Linked DNA regions of Homo sapiens: regions 1 and 3 are each linked to region 2. The links are contacts of gene promoters, found by promoter capture Hi-C in human tissues and cell types (Jung and others, 2019). All regions are on one chromosome and are shown on one strand. The core of a region is centred on a gene start or on the middle of the fragment in contact, and the rest is flanking DNA. Distances in the headings are between cores, read along the strand shown. Region 1 has its middle 170 kb from the start of LINC00052. Region 2 holds the start of NTRK3 (neurotrophic receptor tyrosine kinase 3). Region 3 overlaps NTRK3 (neurotrophic receptor tyrosine kinase 3).

Region 1 (3,910 bases), core at 779-3,278, 510 kb after region 2:
GAAAATTTTGTATTATTTTTGTAGCATGAGGGAGACAAAATTCATGCATTAGAAAGGCCAGATAGGAAAATCAAATAAAATGTCTGCCCGCAGCAGGGAGGGCAACCGATTATACTCTCCTAGGAAAACTTTTGTTTGTTTGTTTTTAACTTTTGCTTTTGTGAAGGAGTTCAGCTTTGTTCAAGTTACAGAAGTGAAGAGCTACATGCGACATAGAAAAAGACATTTTCTTGAGCATTTCTTAATTAGGAAAGTTTCTAATCAGTTACTCCTGACACAGTCACTTTAAATACTGCATTATCACATCTGCAGGCTTTGGGGAAAATGGAAGTGAAAGGCTTAGCAATATCTACACTTTAAGATGTTCATTGGCATTAGAGGTGTCTCTAAATATGATAATGCAGGTTGGTTTAAAATAGATAAATAAAATGATTTTCATCTTCATCTAGTGCCAAGGAACAGTTGGGCTGAATATTGGATTGAGCCTGACATCTGTTATGGAGTTCAACCAGAGGAAGCTGGCTTGAACTTGTTGTTGGTTAATTACCCTTCTTGGAAGGCCAGAGAGGCTGGAGAGGTTGCTCGCTGGCTCAGTGAACTGCCATGAGGGATGGATGAAGCAAGGCTGTAACATGAGGTGACCAAATGCAGATGAACTGCAGAGGCTGAGTACAGAATCATGCCCACAGAGGACCACTGAGGGATAAACCAGAGAATCAGATCTGCAGTCAACTTCCAGGGCACAGGTCAGGAATGGAGTTGGGCTGAGGAGCATGGTACAGGGGACCCACAAGGGACTAGGGCTTCTCCTGTGACTGATCCTAGGGCCCCCAACTTCCTCTTGATGACCATATGCAAAGTCAGGCTTTGGATAGAAAGACACTGCTTGGTGCCTGGGCAGACTGATGGAAATGTTCTTAATTCTTCACCAAGCCCGTGATAAAGATATTAAATCGTACTGACCCTATAGGGTCACTCCATGGGGCATTATGCTATTTAAACTAGATGACAGGTACTTCAGTTCACTGCATTTTGAATGAGTATTTACTCAGCTGCTTAACATTAAATTAAATGAGAAAAATAAAAGGAGGCAAGAAGGAAGTAACATAGGATCAGGTTTTTACCTATTTATACTGAGTTTTATCAAACATAATCACTTAGATTCCACTACCAAGGGCTGGCTATTAGCCACAAATTTGAAAAGTGAGGCTAGGTTGTCCTATGATCATAACAAAAGTGCATGCTGTTAATTTGACAGAGAAGAGAGAAAAGCTGTAAAAGGAAGACACATGTTTCTACAAAGCACCCCAGGGATATGGAGGAGAAACAAGCAGTTTTAGACTTCAAAAGCTGTGATGACATCATTTTATGACTTCACATGTCATTTATTAGTAACAAGGAGACTTGTTGACATTTATTAGATACTTATTCTATGCCAGCCACTCTTTCCAGGACTTTGGACATGTAGTCTCTGTTAATCTTCACAGAATTGCTAAGAGTTAGTTACTATAATTCCATTTTATAGGTCAAGAAATTGAGGTTCAGGGAAGTTAAGAAACTTGTCCAAGGTTACACAGCTGATAAATGACAGAGCCAGAATCAGACTCAGTGTAAAAGCTTTTTATACATTCTCTTATTCAAATATCTCATCAGAAAGTTAGTATTTGTATCTTCATTTTATACATTTGGGGATCAAGGTTCAGAGATGTAATGCAAATTACCTGAGGTCACATGGTAAATACAAGCCAGGAGTCAAAATTGCATCTGTGTTACCCCGTAATGTGGTACATGGAAGACACCACACTGTCATTTCTCTCTCATTCTGGCCAAAAATACATAACTGAAATCTAAGTATGCGGAGACAATCAAACCAGTCCTCACTGAGTGGCGTTAAGCAAAATGACTGGACCGTACTCAACAGCATCAATGTCATGAAAGGCAAACAAAGATGGGGAATTAAAAAACTGAAGATACACATTAGCTGGTTGGGATGTGGATTTTGTACTGCATCTGTGTTAAAATACATCATCTACAAAGGACAGTATTAGGGCAGTTGGGGAGATTTGAGTACTAATAATTTTTTAGACAATTGTATTGTGTTAGTGTTAGATTTCCTTGAGTACAATAGCTGTATTGTGGTTTTATAAGGGAATGTCCTTGGTCTTTAAAGATAGCCTGCTGAAGTATTTAGGAGTTGAATGTGATGATGCCCATAACTGCCTCTCCAATAGTTTAGTTAAAAAGTGTGTGTGTGTATGTGTGTGTACACATCCGTATGTATATGCATGTATATATGTATGTCTGTATGTGTCTATCTATCTATATGTATATTTGTGTGGTGACAGAGAGAGAGAAAAGAAATTTTAATAATTGATAAATTTAGTTGAAAGGTATATAAGTGTTTTCTGCACTATTCCTGCAACCTTTCAGTAGATTCATTTTTTTTTCACAAGTTTAGAAGTTGGTGGCAAATACCTCTGTCTGGATGACTCCCCAGCTCCACTTCTTCACCTCTACTCTAAGGTGCACAAGGTCCACACTGAAGATCTGAACCACGAGTAAAAGGATGGATTGCTCTTCCTCTAGCTATAATGAGCACCACTTAATACTTACTGTATATTCCATCAACAAATGTTTTATTGGGCGCTTACTCTATACCAGGAACCCCCTCTGGGCCCTGAGGATAAATAATGATAAAACAAAGTTCCTGACCTTGTGGGGTTGGGGAAACTAGCGTAGAGGACAGAAAATAAATAGTTAAATGAAGAAATGCTTACTATAACTTCAGCCACAGATGAAATAGGACATAGCTCAGAGAATGATGAGAAAGAACGTATGGCTACTTAGATAAGGGATCAAGGAAGGCCTCTCTGGTGAGGTGATGATTAGGCTGAAATTTGAATAAGATGAGGGAGCAAGTCCATGGCAGATATGGAAGGAGTGTGTTCCACACCAGGGAAGAGCAAGTGCAGGCCCCATAGTGAGACATTCTGGAGCCACCCCAAGCACTTCATATATCTTTTAATCTCACTAAAACCTCTCCCCACTTTAGTTTTATTTTGTTTTTGTTTATTTTTCAAAACGTGCACTATGCTTTAGCAAGATTCCCTTAGAGCATAAAATAGCATTTTTCCTTAAGGTGCAATCTTTGCTTTTCAGAAAATGTAGGCAAGGAAATATACGTACTGTTGAAAGACATTTAGGTGTAAGAAATGTCACATCTCATTCCTTTTAAAAACGAAATCTAACAGGTTCTTTCTCCATATTCCAAGTTTGAAAAGAAATATAGTTCTACTCATTTTCCTTGAGGTTACTCTTATCTTCTGGTTTCTATAGGAGTTTGAGGATTCACACAGCACAGGCCACTTGGGAAAGTGGCTCTACATTTGGATCATCTACTGAAATGCTCTTACTTTAGACTTGCTCCCCCCAAATTTTTTTGTGTGTATTAATTTGGAAGAGCACTTCATACTGATTTGGTCAGTTATGTATATTACCGGCAAATATTCTTTTTTTTTTTTTTTGACAGAGTCTTGATCTATCTTTTATCCAGGTTGGAGTGCAGTGGCGTAATCTTGGCTCACTGCAACCTCCGCCTCCTGGGTTCAAGCCATTCTCCTGCCTCAGCCTCTCAAGTAGCTGGGATTACAAGCAACCACCAGCATGCCTGGGTAATTTTTTTTTTTTTTGGTAGTTTTAGTAGAGATGGGGTTTCGCTATGTTGGCCAGGCTGGTCTCAAACTCCTGACCTCAGGTGGTCCACTTGTCTCGGCCTCCCAGAGTGCTGGGATTACAGGCGTGAGCCACCATGCTCAGCCTCATTTCATTTTTGGCTTTAGCTTTTGACAACCTATTTTCAATATTATATAAATAATAACCTATGCATTTTTCCTAGAATTATTATAGTTTT
Region 2 (3,676 bases), core at 929-3,428:
AAAGGTTTTTTGTTGTTGTTGTTTTTGTTGTTCTAACTTATGGATGTCTCTTCTTCTCTGCTTGACATGTTAAAAATCCTCTCTCTCTCTCTTTCTTTCTCTCTCTCTCTCTCTCTCAAAAAAGTGGGCTGGGCATCTTTTGGACACAACCATTTCAGTTCCAGGCTGGAGCACTGATGCTGGGCTGAATCCACTTGGCGTTCCCTGCCCAGGAGTGGTCTGAGAGAGGCTGTGTTTCTCTGCTGCCACCTGCCACCTCCCAAGAGAGGCCAAGTGTTAGGATCTGACTACACCTCAGTTTCCTGACTCTCAGATATTCTAAAGCCAATCCCAGAATGGCACTTGAAGTGACAGGGAAATTCCCAGTGGCCTAAGGACAGCCAGGATTGGCCTAGGGCCAGTAGCAAGTGGTTTGAGAGTCCAAGGAGGTCTTCACACTCTGTCCCCGCCTGCTGGTGGGAGGGCAAAATGCCAGTCTGGAGACAAGGCCATAATGGCGACGGGGGTAAAAATCTCCCTGGGGCCAAGGGAAGGTGGAACGTGACGGGAAGTCGGGAAAACTGCCTTGTATAGGCATGTTCTTTTCTTCCATTTTTTTCGTCCAAGTTTTTACTCCAAGCGACAGTGCCACCCGAAGGCGACCGGCCTGTTTGTGGTTGCGCCTGGGGCAGGCGGTGACACCGGCATACCCCTTCCCCCATCTTGCCTGCAAGTTGCATGACCTGCATCGGAATCCACAGGGGGGCGGGGGAGACTCCTTTCAGATACTGGATGCAGTTGAATTGAATTCAATGTATTTTGCTTCCTCGCCTGCCCTCCTCCAAGCTCGGGAAGGAGAACCCTGCTTTCTTCTGCGTGTGAATGCTGTAGTGTGTCTGCCTGCTCGGACTCCCCTAACCCTTTCTTCTCCTTTCCCACAGCGAATGCTCGTTTTTTTTTTTTTCAGCAAACAGCTCACACTTGGCATCTTTATGTTTTATTAAGAAAAAAATCCCTACCAGCGCAAAAGCGGGGCCCCCCCCACACACACTTCTTTCCCGGATGAGATCTGAGCTCTCGTCGAAAGCTGCACCTGCTTTGCGTCCCTACCAGGAAGGGGTGCTTGTGTGGGAGGGAAGGAGGAGGTTCTGCGCCCCCGAATCCGGAGAAAGCAGCCCGCCCGCCCCCTCACCCGGCAGCCAGCTCAGCTCACCCGAGAGCTGAGCCCGAGAAGCCGGCCTCTGACGGTGCTGGCGTGGCGCTTGCCAAAATATGCCCCTTGCATCTCAATTTCCCCCGGCCATTTCTCTTGCACGCACAGCTCGCCCGGGGCCACCTCGGCTCTCCAGCGCAGCCCTTTCGACCCCTGTTTCTTCCTTCCCCGATCCATGCCTGCTCAAGGCCGAATGCAAAACCCACCTCCAAGAAAGCGCAGCGGGCACGGGGGGCACCTAGCGTGCCATGTCCCGCAGTCCCCTCCCAGCCAAGACCAGAGCCCCAGACTCTAGATTACGGAAATGAGTGTCATTCAGACCAAGGACTGCGCGTCTGCGGTCCCGGTCCCCGGCTCTGGGTGCTTCTCTGGGGTGTCTGTGCGCTCCGGCACCCCCCGTCGCCGTCCGTGAGCCTGCGCCCCCCACCCACCCAGGCTTGGGAGCGCCCCCCACCCAAGGCTTGGGAGCACTCCCCAATCACCTCCGCCACGTTCATTTCACTTCCTACCGCGGTCCGGATTGCAGCAAAACCGGGTAGCGCGAGGGCCAAAAAGTGGAAAGGAGAGCGCCTTTCCGTGTCGTGCAGCCAGCTCGCCAACTCTCCCTCCCCAGCCCCGACCCTCGCAATCTCAAATGCAACTTTTTCCCTTCGGTCTCGGTTTCCCCCGGGCTGCGGCTAGCGGGCGCCGCGCTGCGAGGCGTGGAGCGGGCGGGCTGCCGCGAGGCTGCGGGTGGCGGTGCCGGCTACAGCCGCGAGCCGGCGAGTGGGTGGGTGGGTGGGTGGGGAGGAGGGAGAGGACAGGCGGGGAGAGAGACGGGTGTGGGGAGGGGAGGGAGGGGGAGATTCCGCTCTCCTGCCGCTCCCAGCCCGGGCGGGGGGCGGGGGGAGGAGGCCGCGACGAGGGAGGGGAGGAGGGAGGGAGGAAGGGAGGGAGGGAGCCGAGGAAGACGCTCCGATAACCCGTGCGTTTCGTAAGGCTCGGAGCACTTGTACATTTCTGCAGCCGCGCGGCGAGCCATTCGCGGCGGCTGCTGCAGCTCCTACTGCATCTTCCTTCTCTTCCTTTCCTCGGGCTCCGGGTGTGTGTATGTGTGAGAGTGAGTGTGTGTGTTTTGCAGGTGCGTGGTGTGTCCGTTTTAATTCTGCCCAGTAGGTGGGACTTGGTGACTTTAGCACCATTTTTTCCTTTTCCTTTTTTTTTTTTGCCTCCCCACCGTCTGTTGCAACCCTGCAAAGTCTCGGAGTCGGAGAGCGCGCCTCGCTTCCAGAGCCCCCGGACCCGGCGAGTCAGCGATCGCCGAGCCGGCCACCATGCCCGGCAGACCGCGCCACTAGGCGCTCCTCGCGGCTCCCACCCGGCGGCGGCGGCGGCGGCGGCGGCGTCCGCGATGGTTTCAGACGCTGAAGGATTTTGCATCTGATCGCTCGGCGTTTCAAAGGCAGAGGCCCCCCCTCCCCCTTCCCCCCTCCCTCGCCGTCTTTGTTTCCTTCCCCCCCTGCTCTCCCCACTCCCCCCACCCCACCCCCCTCTCCTCTCCTCCTCCTCTTTTTTAGAAGCAGCGATCGGAGATGGATGTCTCTCTTTGCCCAGCCAAGTGTAGTTTCTGGCGGATTTTCTTGCTGGGAAGCGTCTGGCTGGACTATGTGGGCTCCGTGCTGGCTTGCCCTGCAAATTGTGTCTGCAGCAAGACTGAGATCAATTGCCGGCGGCCGGACGATGGGAACCTCTTCCCCCTCCTGGAAGGGCAGGATTCAGGGAACAGCAATGGGAACGCCAGTATCAACATCACGGACATCTCAAGGAATATCACTTCCATGTAAGTCAGGCGGCCGCTCCCCAGCCTGCCTCCCCCGCGCTCTGCGTCTCCCTCCTGCCCACCCGCGGCCGGGAGCCGGCCCTCCGCCCGCCCCAGCTCGCCGCTGCCCGCCGCCCGCTGGGCGCGCGTCAGGCTCGCTCTGGCTCGGGAGATGCTCTCCGGCTGCGCATTCCAGGTGACTCCGGCCCTGGCGAGGCGCGATCCGGCTATGCGTGTGTGTGCCTCTCCCCGGAGAGGACCCCGGCCGCCGAGGGCACGCGGGGCCCAGCTACCGCCCGCCTCCCAACCAGTTGCTGGCTCGTTTCGATGGTGCAAATTGTTTTTTTTTGCTCCCCACTAAATAGCAACAGTTTGGCCACGCTCAAGTGGAATAAAGTAGACGAGGTTCGATTCTTTGGCAGAGGCGGCAGCGGCGGTGGCAGCGGCGGCAGCGCTTAGCCGGCAGGGAAGGTGACAGATAGGGACTGCTCGCGATCCAGCCGAGGTGTTTAACTATTTCCATTTGGAAACAGCAAAACATGCTGACAAGTAAACAAGTTGCGAGCTGGCTGCTCGCGGGGAGACTTTGGACGTGTGGAGGCCGTCATGGACGCCTACCTCTTCCCTTCCCCTCCTGCAGCCCGCCCTCTCCAGCCCCATTTTGGGCATTTCCGAGACACCCCTTT
Region 3 (3,669 bases), core at 290-2,789, 360 kb after region 2:
AGGGGGAGTCGGGGTGAGAGGAGGCTTATCGTAGTTTCATCCTAGCTGGGCATGTCGGTTTTTACATGGGCCTCTGGGATCTCTCTGAATCTTTTTTCTTTGGTTCATTTCTAGAAATAGACATTGTATTTCTAGAAATAGAAACTAACTTGAGAGTCGAATTTTCTAGTGTTTTCTCAGGATTTTTTCAGCTGTGACAGAAAACTCTCTACCTTAAGCAAAAAGGCAATGTACTGTCTTTATAATAAAATTTTTGTTTTCCAGGTTTAGGAATTATTTCTAGTGTTGGCTTCATTCTAAGACCTAAATAATGTCACCATGTAGAGCCTGTTGCTTCCTCTCTCCCTTCTTCCTTCTCATCTCTACTCTGACTTCTTTCCATAATTTCATCATCATTCTCTGCCTCTCTCTTTGTCTGCCCAAGACCATGATCTTAGAGAAAGAGATGTTAACGGGAAATAGATTTCCAAACAATCAAGGCTAATGTATTTTGAAAATTATGATGACAAATGCTGCCACAGTTGAACACATTATCTGGGACCTAGATGTTCAGTAGTGAAGGCTTGTCCTCGTCAGGGAGGCCTTGCCATCAGGAGCCTAGCTGATGAGGTGAGAAATTATCAGTGCCATTTCTACAAGAGTGGGACGGGACATTATGCAGAGAAAAGCTCCAAGAGAAAGACACAGGAAGCAAAGTCCATGACTGGCTTCTTTTTTCCAATCTGTCTATGGAGGAACATAGATATTTTCTGATGTCATCTTTATGAGTGCTCTCTGGGCTGGTGTAGGTTCCCATCTTACTTCATTGAATCTGCTGATTTAGATATTTCTGAATGAAAATTCCCCTTCAGCTTTTCTGAGTGTTTTATATAAATCACATTTATAGGATTTCTATCACATTGTCCAAAATGTGCCACCCTAACCTATCAATTTACATGCCTTAAAACATTTTTACTAATGAGTCTTTTTTTAATTTAGAATGTATAAGAACTTTAACTTGGTGGTGAATAAGAACTTTGGTTTTGGAATCAGAATAATTTGGGTACAAGACTTGGATTTTTCTATCTCAAGCATTTTTGAATAAGATGCTTAACCTCTTCCTCTCCTTTTTCCCTTCCTCTCTCCCTTTCTCCCCCTCTCCCCCCCTCCCCAACTTTCCTCCTTCCTTTCTTCCTTTCTCAATACAATGCTGTCGATAATAGTAGTTTTCATAGCCAATGCGTTTTAGGAGGATTGAGCGAAGCAGTGCATTTTAATTCATTTAGCATATATCCTAGCACAGTATAAACATGCAATAAGTTGTTCTATATCCATGTTCACTGGGACAAGAACTTAGCCCAACTCAACTCCCAAACTTGGAATGCTGAAAGCATCTCTTTCTACCTCTGTTATGGTGGAGGCCAGAGCTTCAGATAAATTAAGATGAGGGCTCTACCCTTGGGGATTACCTACCCCAGCACTCAGCCTGGCTTGACCTTTTGGGGACCCACTAGGTGACCCTGAGAAAGATACTTCATCCCAGTTTCGTTAGCCTACAAACAAGAAGTCCACCTGCTCAAATTCCCCTTCTATATTTTTTGGAAACAGGAATGTGTGTTAACAGAGGAGGAATGCCTTTGAATAACAACTCTCCAACTGTGATTTCTGGCTTCACATTTAAGACTTTCTTGTAGGTTCATCCTCAGAGCAGTCCTCTCCTGCCTTTTGACCTTGAAGGAGAAGCCAAGAGGCAGGGCTTGTTTATAAAGAGAGATGGAGCAGCCCACAGCTGCAGGCCTCAGATTATGGCCTGGAATCCCAGATGCTGCATGGAGGTACAGCTCCTCCATCTCTTTCATCTGAACCTGCCCTTGGCCTACACCCTTCACTGCCAAGAGGCACCCCAGGACCCAGTTGTAGAGTAGCAGGCTGTGTGGAACGAAGTGGACCTCAGAGCTCTAACCTTCTCACAGGGCCAGGAGGGGCATCCAAAGATTATCCAGTCTCTACTTGACCAAATCATCCCCTTTTGGAACTGGATGATCCCTAAAGGTCAACTAGTCGAAGTCTTTCCCTCACCCTACCAATTATGCAGATGAGAACACAGAAGGCCAGGGGTGAGCCAGGAGGTATGATGCAAACTAAGGCAGGGCCGTGGAGCTCCTGAATTCTGGCCCATGCTCTCCTTCACTGCCTACAGCACACACACACACACACACACACACACACACACACACACACCCTCTGTAAAGTCAGGCTGCTGATGCTGCAGGTGTTAGGAAGGGCCTTGAGTTGAGCTTTCGTTCAGTGTTCTTGATGTCCTGATTCAGATGAGAAAATTATGCTCATGCAATTTTTGAGCAGAGAGGAATCTTAGCAAAACTCTGGTCCAACTATGTCATTATTCCAAGTATGAACATTGAGACCAAAAGAAAACATGGGCTGCCAAGACCACAGGATGGCACACTAGTAGAACTGGGACAAGAACCCAGATGACCTGAGTCTGAATCCAGTGCTCTTTTCACTAAGGTTCCTGGTTTATCTTGGTGCCAGACCTTCCCTCTGCCTGTCCCCATTCCAGGATGCTAAAGATGCCTCTAGGCCTTGCCAGGGCTGTGTGGCTGGGTTAATAGATGCCCCTTTCCTGGCATTTCCCAGGGAAAGGCCCAACTAGAAACCTATGGTGCTTAAAAAGAGTGGTGGTACTTCTTTTTTTGATGAATCACCTTGCAGTTCCCAGAGTGCTTTGACTGCTGTTACCACCCAACCTCAGACTTCCTTGAGAATTTAACGCTGTTATTTTTTCCAAGTTGAATCCCCACTTTTAAATGAAGATAAAGGACTTTATCAACTGTTTCATGTCTGTGGTCCTGCAAGTGATCTATGAGCTCTCTCCTCTCAGCAGCAAGCATCCTTCCTTTAGAATTAAAGGGTCTTTTTTCATGACTCAAAGACAAATCCCATTTTCCATTGGATGAAGAGTACATTCAACTCCCAAGAAAGCTTTAGGTGTGTGAGAAGGCTAATTGTTTCCACCTTCTCCTTGCCCTTATCAAAGCTCCTCCAGCAGCCAGTCAGTGAACAGATGGGAAATTCAGCTCCAGCTCAGAGAAGCTAGATAAGGCAGCCTGTAGCCTGCGAAGGACTTGTATATTCTTTATGTCCTCTCCCATGATGTGCATCCGACTACCCTTTGCCTGGGGATGTGGCCATCAGTAGTAGGTTTCTGCTGTGCTATGTATTGTTTACTGAAGAAATTAAAATATGCAAAGTGTTCCTGGTCCCCCTTTTTGGGCTCCCTCTCCAGCTCCTTCTGGCATTTTCTGTTGGCAGTTAATAAAACAAAAGGGGGGCCCAAAGGCTCGGGTCTCCCTCCAGCTAGAATGGTTAATTTGGAGTGGTTTGGAAGTAGTAGATATTACCTCTAGCTACAGTTGTGCCTTTCTGGCTGATCTGTCCAACCTGCAATGTGTGTCCTGACTGATGGAGTTCGAATGCTTCATGAAAGGGGCAGGGGATTAAGGGCACAGAAATTGAGGGGGTGGGGGAAGGAGAAAGGAGGGGTGGGTCTCCTTTTGCTTATTATAGCAGCACAAACCAGCAAAGACTTATCTTTCCTCAAGACAGCCTTACGTTGAAAGAGCTACAGTCCAAGACACTTGAAAATTACTCCCTAATCCAGCCTAAATC

Evidence for each region. Contacts are between HindIII fragments. The study calls those that stand out against the background at their distance.
Region 1: a contact is called between a fragment that was not itself captured here and the fragment with the promoter of NTRK3 in region 2, in 1 of the 25 tissues and cell types used here (dorsolateral prefrontal cortex).
Region 3: a contact is called between a fragment that was not itself captured here and the fragment with the promoter of NTRK3 in region 2, in 2 of the 25 tissues and cell types used here (aorta and dorsolateral prefrontal cortex).

What each region holds. Positions count from the first base shown.
Region 1 is chr15:87,743,977-87,747,886 of GRCh38, reverse strand. No RefSeq gene overlaps it. Among named protein-coding and RNA genes, the nearest start is that of LINC00052, 170 kb to the right of the region's middle. The HindIII fragment of the contact is 5,550 bases long and covers 1-3,910 here.
Region 2 is chr15:88,255,241-88,258,916 of GRCh38, reverse strand. NTRK3 (neurotrophic receptor tyrosine kinase 3) reads left to right here and starts at 2,178. Exons shown (of 20, transcript NM_001012338.3): 1 at 2,178-2,273; 2 at 2,431-2,633; 3 at 2,749-3,011. The coding sequence starts at 2,764. The region is part of intron 1 of NTRK3-AS1 (NTRK3 antisense RNA 1); the gene reads right to left. RefSeq lists enhancers at 325-619, 2,960-3,496, 3,497-3,676. The HindIII fragment of the contact is 6,423 bases long and covers 1-3,676 here.
Region 3 is chr15:87,899,242-87,902,910 of GRCh38, reverse strand. The region is part of intron 17 of NTRK3 (neurotrophic receptor tyrosine kinase 3); the gene reads left to right. Among named protein-coding and RNA genes, the nearest start is that of MIR11181, 45 kb to the left of the region's middle. The HindIII fragment of the contact is 4,263 bases long and covers 1-3,669 here.